2 separate regions of the Homo sapiens genome follow, and region 1 is linked to region 2. The links are contacts of gene promoters, found by promoter capture Hi-C in blood cells and fetal thymus (Javierre and others, 2016). All regions are on one chromosome and are shown on one strand. The core of a region is centred on a gene start or on the middle of the fragment in contact, and the rest is flanking DNA. Distances in the headings are between cores, read along the strand shown. Region 1 overlaps HNRNPU (heterogeneous nuclear ribonucleoprotein U). Region 2 holds the start of TFB2M (transcription factor B2, mitochondrial).

Evidence for each region. The method cuts DNA at HindIII sites, captures the fragments that hold promoters and counts their contacts. A CHiCAGO score of 5 or more calls a contact.
Region 1: a contact is called between a fragment that was not itself captured here and the fragment with the promoter of TFB2M in region 2, in 1 of 17 cell types (fetal thymus). The highest score is 5.5, in fetal thymus.

What each region holds. Positions count from the first base shown.
Region 1 is chr1:244,858,170-244,862,186 of GRCh38, reverse strand. HNRNPU (heterogeneous nuclear ribonucleoprotein U) reads left to right here. Exons shown (of 14, transcript NM_031844.3): 4 at 1,713-1,852; 5 at 2,813-2,912; 6 at 3,346-3,458; 7 at 3,913-4,017. Among named protein-coding and RNA genes, the nearest start is that of HNRNPU, 4.4 kb to the left of the region's middle. The HindIII fragment of the contact is 591 bases long and covers 2,330-2,920 here.
Region 2 is chr1:246,564,927-246,568,830 of GRCh38, reverse strand. It overlaps TFB2M (transcription factor B2, mitochondrial), which reads left to right and starts at 2,570. Exons shown (of 8, transcript NM_022366.3): 1 at 2,570-3,005. The coding sequence starts at 2,693. CNST (consortin, connexin sorting protein) reads right to left here and starts at 2,375. Exons shown (of 11, transcript NM_152609.3): 1 at 2,168-2,375. RefSeq lists enhancers at 1,771-2,270, 2,311-2,370, 2,601-2,880. The HindIII fragment of the contact is 6,532 bases long and covers 1,639-3,904 here.

The DNA of each region.
Region 1 (4,017 bases), core at 1,376-3,875, 1.7 Mb after region 2:
CTAGCTAACGGAAACTTGTAACACTACCTATAATTTAGCCTTACAGGCTTCTACAATAAAGTAATTCATTTTTTTGTGGAATTATATTAAGTGAGCTATTTGGGCTAGTTAAATATTTACTAATGACTTCTCCCATTAGCACACAAGTATATTCCCTATTTTAAAAGATTGTAATATTACTTTTTCAATAACTGCTCTTTTGTTCTCAATTCCAGTTCAGTAGCTGCTGCTTTAAACATAAGTTGATTTCTTCCAAAGACCTGAGGCAGCAGCAGTGGGCTATCACTGGGCCACTAGCTTTCTTCAGCAGCGAATGGTATCAATGGCAGTGCAGCACTGTAAATACTGCTACTTTACCCAGTTGGGTTGCAATTGAGTGAGAAAGTATTGCAAACCTCTAAGTGGGCTTTGACTGTCAGACTTGTTTTTTTTTTTTTTTTTTTTGTTACAAAAAAACGTAGTTGGTTTAGTGATGAGAATGTACAACTCTGGGTGTGATAAATAGACCAAAGGATAAAAATAACTGTTTCAAAAGTATCAGCTATGGTGTCAGCCTGCTGTGTTAGATGGAAGGCATTGGAGCTTAGCTTCTCATGTTTTCTTGTACAAATTGGCTTTATTCAGATTTGTAAGAGTGTCAATGTAAAACTCTTTCTTACTGGAATATCCTTTACAGAAGGTTGAGATAGTCATCTGAGCCTTTTTAAAAGAAAAAACTGCAGGTGAAAAAGGAGTTAGTTGATGTGAAAGTTTTAGTGAAATTCTGGGTTGTATAAATAAGTTGCTAGGAATTGGCAAGGTAGTGAAGTGGTGACTCACACAGGTAATGTAATTGTTAGATTTTTTAGCAAATCAGGAATATGTCAATATAAGTACAATGTTGAATTCAAACAATCTGTTGAATTAAATTCTGTTGATTAGAATAACTCTAATTTAAGAAAAATTCCAAACTGTAGATTTATTTTTCTCTGATCAGTAAAAAGAAAATGAGTTCCAGCTTGACTTTAGCTGTTCAAGTGAGAAGTCTGAGGAAGTGCATGTTAATGAGCCAGTGACCCATAGGTAGCTGGGTTAAAGACACTTTGGATTTGGATAATCCGGGAAGCAATTAATCCCTAATTGTTGAACAGGCAGTCCTGGGTAAAGAGGACCTAAAATGCTGCACTATTAACAGCATTAGACGGCCAGGTTTGTACTTCATAGTTTTAGGCTGTCTTCTTCACAAGTTTTAGAAAAAGAATTTAGGAGCTAGAGCCCTGGTGCAGGATCAACAGCAGCTCATACTCCTATTTTAAAATAATTTGGTCGTGGCCTCCCTTCAGTTTTAATGTGGCACTGGTAAATCTACCTGGTTCTGGCATGCTTCACTTTGATTTCCTGCTATCCTCTACTGCTTGCCTCTAAATCAAGGTAAAGAGCAGAGCAGGTATGTATTAATGTCACATTGTCTTGATTATTTTAAATACTTAAAATATACATGTTAAACCTTGGTATTAGTTTCACAGGCAGTTTACTTTTCAGTACATAATTTAACAGGAGTGACTTGGTGGGAGTGGGGCTTTAAACTGAAAATTGGAACAACAGCATGATGTGGAGAAAAGTTGTGCAGCATTAAGAAGTACATGCAAAAATTAAGTAACCAAGTTTTGTCTACATAGCAGATATGTTTACATTGGATGTCAAAAGTAACACAGTATTTGATATAATTACAGATAATTGTGATCTACATTTTAAAATATCAAGAGATCGTCTCAGTGCTTCTTCCCTTACAATGGAGAGTTTTGCTTTTCTTTGGGCTGGAGGAAGAGCATCCTATGGTGTGTCAAAAGGCAAAGTGTGTTTTGAGATGAAGGTAAATGCAATTTTATGATTTGTTTGTTTGTTTGTGGAGACAGTCTCACTCTGTTCCCTAGGCTGGATTGCCGTGGTGCGACCTAGGCTCACTGCAACCTCCGCGTCCTGGGTTCAAGCGATTCTCCTTGCTTCAGTCTCTCAAGTAGCTCGGACTAGAGGCACACACTACCACACCTGGCTAATTTTTGTATTTTTAATAGAGATGGGGTTTCACCACGTAGGCCAGGCTGGTCGCCAACTCTTGACCTCAGGTGATCCACTGTCTCGGCGTCCCAAAGTGCTGGGATTACAGGCATGAGCCACTGTGCCCAGCCTTTTTTTTTCCTTTTTAAAATAGTGACAAGGTCTCACCATGTTGCCCAGGCTGGTCTTGAACTCCTAAGCTCAAGTGATCTGCCCGCCTGAGCCTCTCAGAATGCTGGAATTACAGGTGCTTCATACTGCTAAGTTATCAAAGGTACTTATTTTTGAAGCTTCCTGTAAATTAAAAGAGGAGCTTGGAACCTTCATTTTGTTGTGACAGTTAATCACGGTTGTTATGTTAGAACTTGCCATGCAGAGCTAGGCGATTTTTTATTTAGGGTACTTCATTTTTATCAAGCATTTGAAAGGGCCACCAAAGAGTTAAAAATAAAATTTGGTTACATTACTGCTTTTGTTGGTGAGAAAAACATTAATTGTATCCTTTAATTGGCTTTAAGTTAAAGACTGACAACATGAACTTTAAAAATATTAAGTATTCTTTTAAATATGGGTCAAATAAGTATTTAACTCTTTAAATTTCAAGTTATAAGCACATCAGTTTAAAGTTCTTACAAATATTGGGGGTGGGCTAGAGTGTGCCTTCTTTGTATTTATAGCTAGAGGAAGATTAGCCCGTGGCGCAATGAAATATGCGAGAGTTAAGGGGTTACCTCCTTGGTGTATTATTTTAATTATTTAATGATTTGACTTTCAGGTTACAGAGAAGATCCCAGTAAGGCATTTATATACAAAAGATATTGACATACATGAAGTTCGTATTGGCTGGTCACTAACTACAAGTGGAATGTTACTTGGTAAAGCTTCTTTTTGACTGATGTGGGCTCATGAATGTTCAGGAGGGTCTGATTTCAGTGTTTTTTAACTAGAGGGCATTCTAAGCCTTTTGTCTGTTTTTATCTATTCTGTTAATACTTCAGACAGGTAATATTAGCACATAGTAGGCACAGGCTACATTTTAGTTTTTGTTCCTTTATTAGAAGTTTATGACCAATGGTTGAAATAAAATCTTACCCGTGATATGCAAATCGTCAACTAATTTGGTCTCTGCGTATATATCCCTCCTAACTTCCATCAATTCTGGTACAGAGATAGAAAAGTAATAGTGTCAGTGACAGGTGATTAGGTTATATGCTTATTTCTCTTGTAGCCTACATCTTAAGTAGTAAAATAGATGAGTCTTTGGACTATTTTAAACATCTACTTCATGAAGATTAATTATTTTCTTAGGTGAAGAAGAATTTTCTTATGGGTATTCTCTAAAAGGAATAAAAACATGCAACTGTGAGACTGAAGATTATGGAGAAAAGTTTGATGAAAATGATGTGATTACATGTTTTGCTGTAAGTTAAAGCTAACTTTCTATGTATAAATGGCAAAGTTAGTAGCTATATCTAGGAACTTTAAAGAAGCTTTACTGAGGTCAGTTTTCAATATGAGCAACAAAATACACCAGTCCCTGGATTAGTGTAAAGACTTCATTCAGCAGTTGAATTGGGAAAACACAGGACATTTTTGAGGAACTCACTAATTCATTTTGACTGAAAACAGTGAACATGAAATTGACCTAGAAAATTCAGTCTAGCTTCTAGGTCAGTATTGTTTCTGGTTCTGGAGATACGTGCTTCATGGTTTACAACCATCAGATTTCTTAACTGTGTAGCCCTTAAAGGCCACCTAATAGTTCTTTAACCTGTAGCTTCCACAGGATAAGCTTTGCTCCTAATTTTAATTCTTAGTTTTTTAGAAAGTTTAAGGAAGCAGATTTTAACTGTTGAATTTTTTTCTGTGTAACAGAACTTTGAAAGTGATGAAGTAGAACTCTCGTATGCTAAGAATGGACAAGATCTTGGCGTTGCCTTCAAAATCAGTAAGGAAGTTCTTGCTGGACGGCCACTGTTC
Region 2 (3,904 bases), core at 1,321-3,820:
TTGAGAGGTGGAGGTCGGAGGATCACCTGAGGTCAAGACCACCCTGGCCAACATGGCGAAACTCCGTCTCTACTAAAAATACAAAAATTAGCTGGACATAGTAGCAGGAGCCTGTAATCCCAGCTACTCGGGAGGCTGAAGCAGGAGAAACTGCTTGAACCCGAAAAGCGGAGGTTGCAGTGAACCGAGATGGCACCAGCCTAGGCGACAGAGTAGACTCCATCTCAAAATTACTTCAAAAAGGCAAAAACAGCATAGGATAGAAAACCACACTTCTTAAGAAAAAAGATGGGAAATACTGCACACTAATCAAGTTTTTCTAATAAAGTATGTCTAAATCCTGATCATAAAGTTCATCTTTAAGGTGAAATCAACATTCTCAGCACCTGGGACCTCAGAAAAAAAATAAGATGTACAAAAATCTCTTATTATTCAAGTACCTTCAATTACAAACAAGTGAACCATCAACACTGTAAAAAGGGAATATTATAATGTAATTCTCTTTCCCAAAACCAAGAGAAAATAATAACACTCAAAAGCAAAATAAAAAATGACATCAGTTTTTCTAGGACTCAGTAGGCTAACTTTGGTCCACAAACATTATGAAATAAGACAGTGCATTTTAAAATAACTGTTTTGTTTTTAACCACAATGTGTTTATTTTTCTTTTTCTCTTTTTCTTTCTTTCTTTTTTTTTAAGGAGACAGAGTCTATGTTGCCCAGTCTGGCTTCGAACTCCCGGCAGCAAGTGATCCTCCCACCTTGGCCTCCCAAAGTGCTGGGATTACAGGCATGAACTACCATACCCAGCCACCACAGTGTTTTTTTTAAAAAGTCAGAAATTCAACGACACATTTCTATGAGTGAACCATGAAGACATAATTCTATTTTATCTGATTTAAAAATATTTAGGACTCCAGGTCCTGGAGGGGGAAAAAAGTGTATTTCTGAATCTATGAAAATGTTTTTTAAGGGGAGAGGGGGAGGCAGCTCAGTAATGGAGAGAGGTTCAGAGGATGCAAAGTCACCTCTAGAAAATTGTCAGTGAGAAAACTGTACGAAAAAAGAATTTAAGCAAATTAAGACCAATGAGTGAGTCCCCACAGTTTGCACAACAGTTGATGAGATATTTTCTATGATGTCCTAACAAATTTATAATACACAAAAGGTCATATTTAGTTGTCAATTCTTTATCCGCTTGAGCTTCATCAGATGAGTATAATCTTCAGACTATTTGCTGGGTGATACATTCCTTAGGAACCTTTTCCTCGTGCATTTAAATGCCAAACTCAATTACACTCTCAGTAGAGTAAGCAGAAAGGATTGTACGTATTCTAAGACACGGAGTTGATTGGCTGCCGTTTCTTGCCTTGGTGGTAAGGATAATGGGTAAAAGCTCTAAGTTTGATCCTGAAACACGGAAAACACTCTCAAAGAACCGTGTCTTCTAACATTGCCCAATAGGTAAAAAAAAAAAGACTGCCAAAATTTCCATTACAGCATCCTATTTTTAGTCTTCAAAATTGGGTCTTTTAAATCGCATTCCACAGTACGATGTGTTTGACTAAGTTTACATAAGGAATACAGTAAGCATCCTAAAGTCTTAATCTTTTTAAGCTTAGAAAGGAATTGTAAGCTTTTACATCTTCATTTTTAATCTTAACTTTAAGTCTTTTAAACACACAAACTGAAAAAATTAAGGAAAATATTGGCCCAGAGAGAGGAATGGAAGGGAGACACCACGCGGTTCTTGACAACCAAAGTGGTAGTGATGGGGGGGACCAGGTGTGGGGGGGAAATGAAAACCATCCACGAGGGTGGGGAGAGCGGGCTGTGGGCCACACAACAGAAAGGAACGGAGACCGTGGAAGCCGCAGGCTCCTCCAGGAGCCGGGTGAGGAACGACTTCTGGCGCTAGTCCCCTAGGGAGGGAGAAATTGGCGCGACGCGCAGCAATAGGAGACCCACAGTAGCTGAGAAAGGAGAGGAAAACAGGCGACCTGAGAGGCGGAGGAGGTAAGGGGACCGGGCTACACCTCACCCGGAGGGCAGAGGCTGCGCGGCTGGAGGAGGACAGCGCAGGGGGAGGAGCGAGAGGCTTCCGAAAGGCTTTCCATCCCGGCCGCGAGCCGGCGGGTCCCCTGCATCCCGCTCCTCCTCTCCTCACCTGGGAATCGGAGGCGCAAGGAGGGCTACCGCTGGGCGCCGGGTCTGTTTCCAGCCCCACTCGGCGACATGGCGGCCGACGTGCTGTCACGGAGCTTGCTCGGGTCTCCCCTGGCTCCGGTGGAGGAGACACCTCTCGCCTTTCCGCCCCGCCTCCCTCTGCGCACCCCTCGCGGCTGGCCGGCTGGAGGCTGGCGGCCCGCGACCGCGGAGCATAGAGCACTGGCGGCTAGAGAGGAAGCGCAGAGCGCGGACAACCATAGAGTACGAGTCCGGACACCAGCCGGATGGTCGGTCGCTCTCCTCAACGGTCCACTCACAATCCTCGGGCGGCTGAGCCGAGGCGGAAGCGGAAGTGAGGGAGAAAAGCAGGAAGGCTCCGCTGTTCGCATGCGCAGGCTCTAGTGTTTACTTCCGCTTGACCTGGCCCGGACGCCAGAAAATGTTCCACGTGGGATACCCTGCGTGGGGTTCACTGTAGTAGCTGCACTAGGTGATTCTTGGAGCGGGCCTGAGAGACAAGGACATGTGGATCCCAGTGGTCGGGCTTCCTCGGCGGCTGAGGCTCTCCGCCTTGGCGGGCGCTGGTCGCTTTTGCATTTTAGGGTCTGAAGCGGCGACGCGAAAGCATTTGCCGGCGAGGAACCACTGTGGGCTCTCTGACTCCTCTCCGCAGCTGTGGCCCGAACCGGATTTCAGGAATCCGCCAAGGAAGGCGTCTAAGGCCAGCTTAGACTTTAAGCGTTACGTAACCGATCGGAGATTGGCTGAGACCCTGGCGCAAATCTATTTGGGAAAACCAAGTAGACCTCCACACCTACTGCTGGAGTGCAATCCAGGTGAGTCCAGCTGAATTGCATTTTCTTGGATGTTCATCATTTATTCAAACGTATTGACCCTCCTCGGGGTGCTATTTTAGATACTGGGGGGTCTTTTTTGTTGTTCTTTTGCTTTGAGACGGAGTCTCGCTGTGTTGCCAGGCTGGAGTGCAGTGGGGCGATCTCGGCTCCCTGCAACCTCCGCGTACCGGGTTCAGGCGATTCTCCTGCCTCAGCCTCCCGAGTAGCAAGAACTACAGGCGCGCGCCACCACGCCCAGCTAATTTTCTTATTTTTACTAGAGACGGGATTTCGCCGTGTTGGCCAGGATGGTCTCGATCTCTTGACCTCGTGATCCTCCCCCCTAGGTCTCCCAAAATGCTGGGATTAGAGGCGTGAGCCACTGCGCCCGTCCAGATACGGGTCTTTGTTTGAAGCTCCTTAGTTGGAGAGATTGCCCACTACATAAGCGTAGAGTCTGTATCGTTAATGACACCACAAAGTATTTCTGTAGCAGCTTGCACTTTACACAATATTTTGATAAAACATGCTCTTAGATCTTATCTCCCCAAAAGAGTTGCAAGCCTCTGCCAGCTGAAAAAATGATGTTATCTTATTCTTCCGTGCATTCCCTATAGACCATAGCAGGATGCTAAGAACACAAGATTTATAGGCTTTTTGAATGATAGTTTTTTAAAGCACCATTTCATATCACAGGGAGTCAGTTCTGTTTAGGCTTGACAATCTCTTTGATGGTTAAAGCATCCGTGTAGTCCGTGAGGAAGTGATAGGCTAGAGGCAATCTATTTTGCTGTGACTTTTTTCTTCTAAGAGGTAGTGAATCATGGTGATGAAGAGTGCAAGTTTTGACCTGGTGCGGTGGCTCACGCCTGTAATCCAGCACTTTCAGAGGCCGAGGC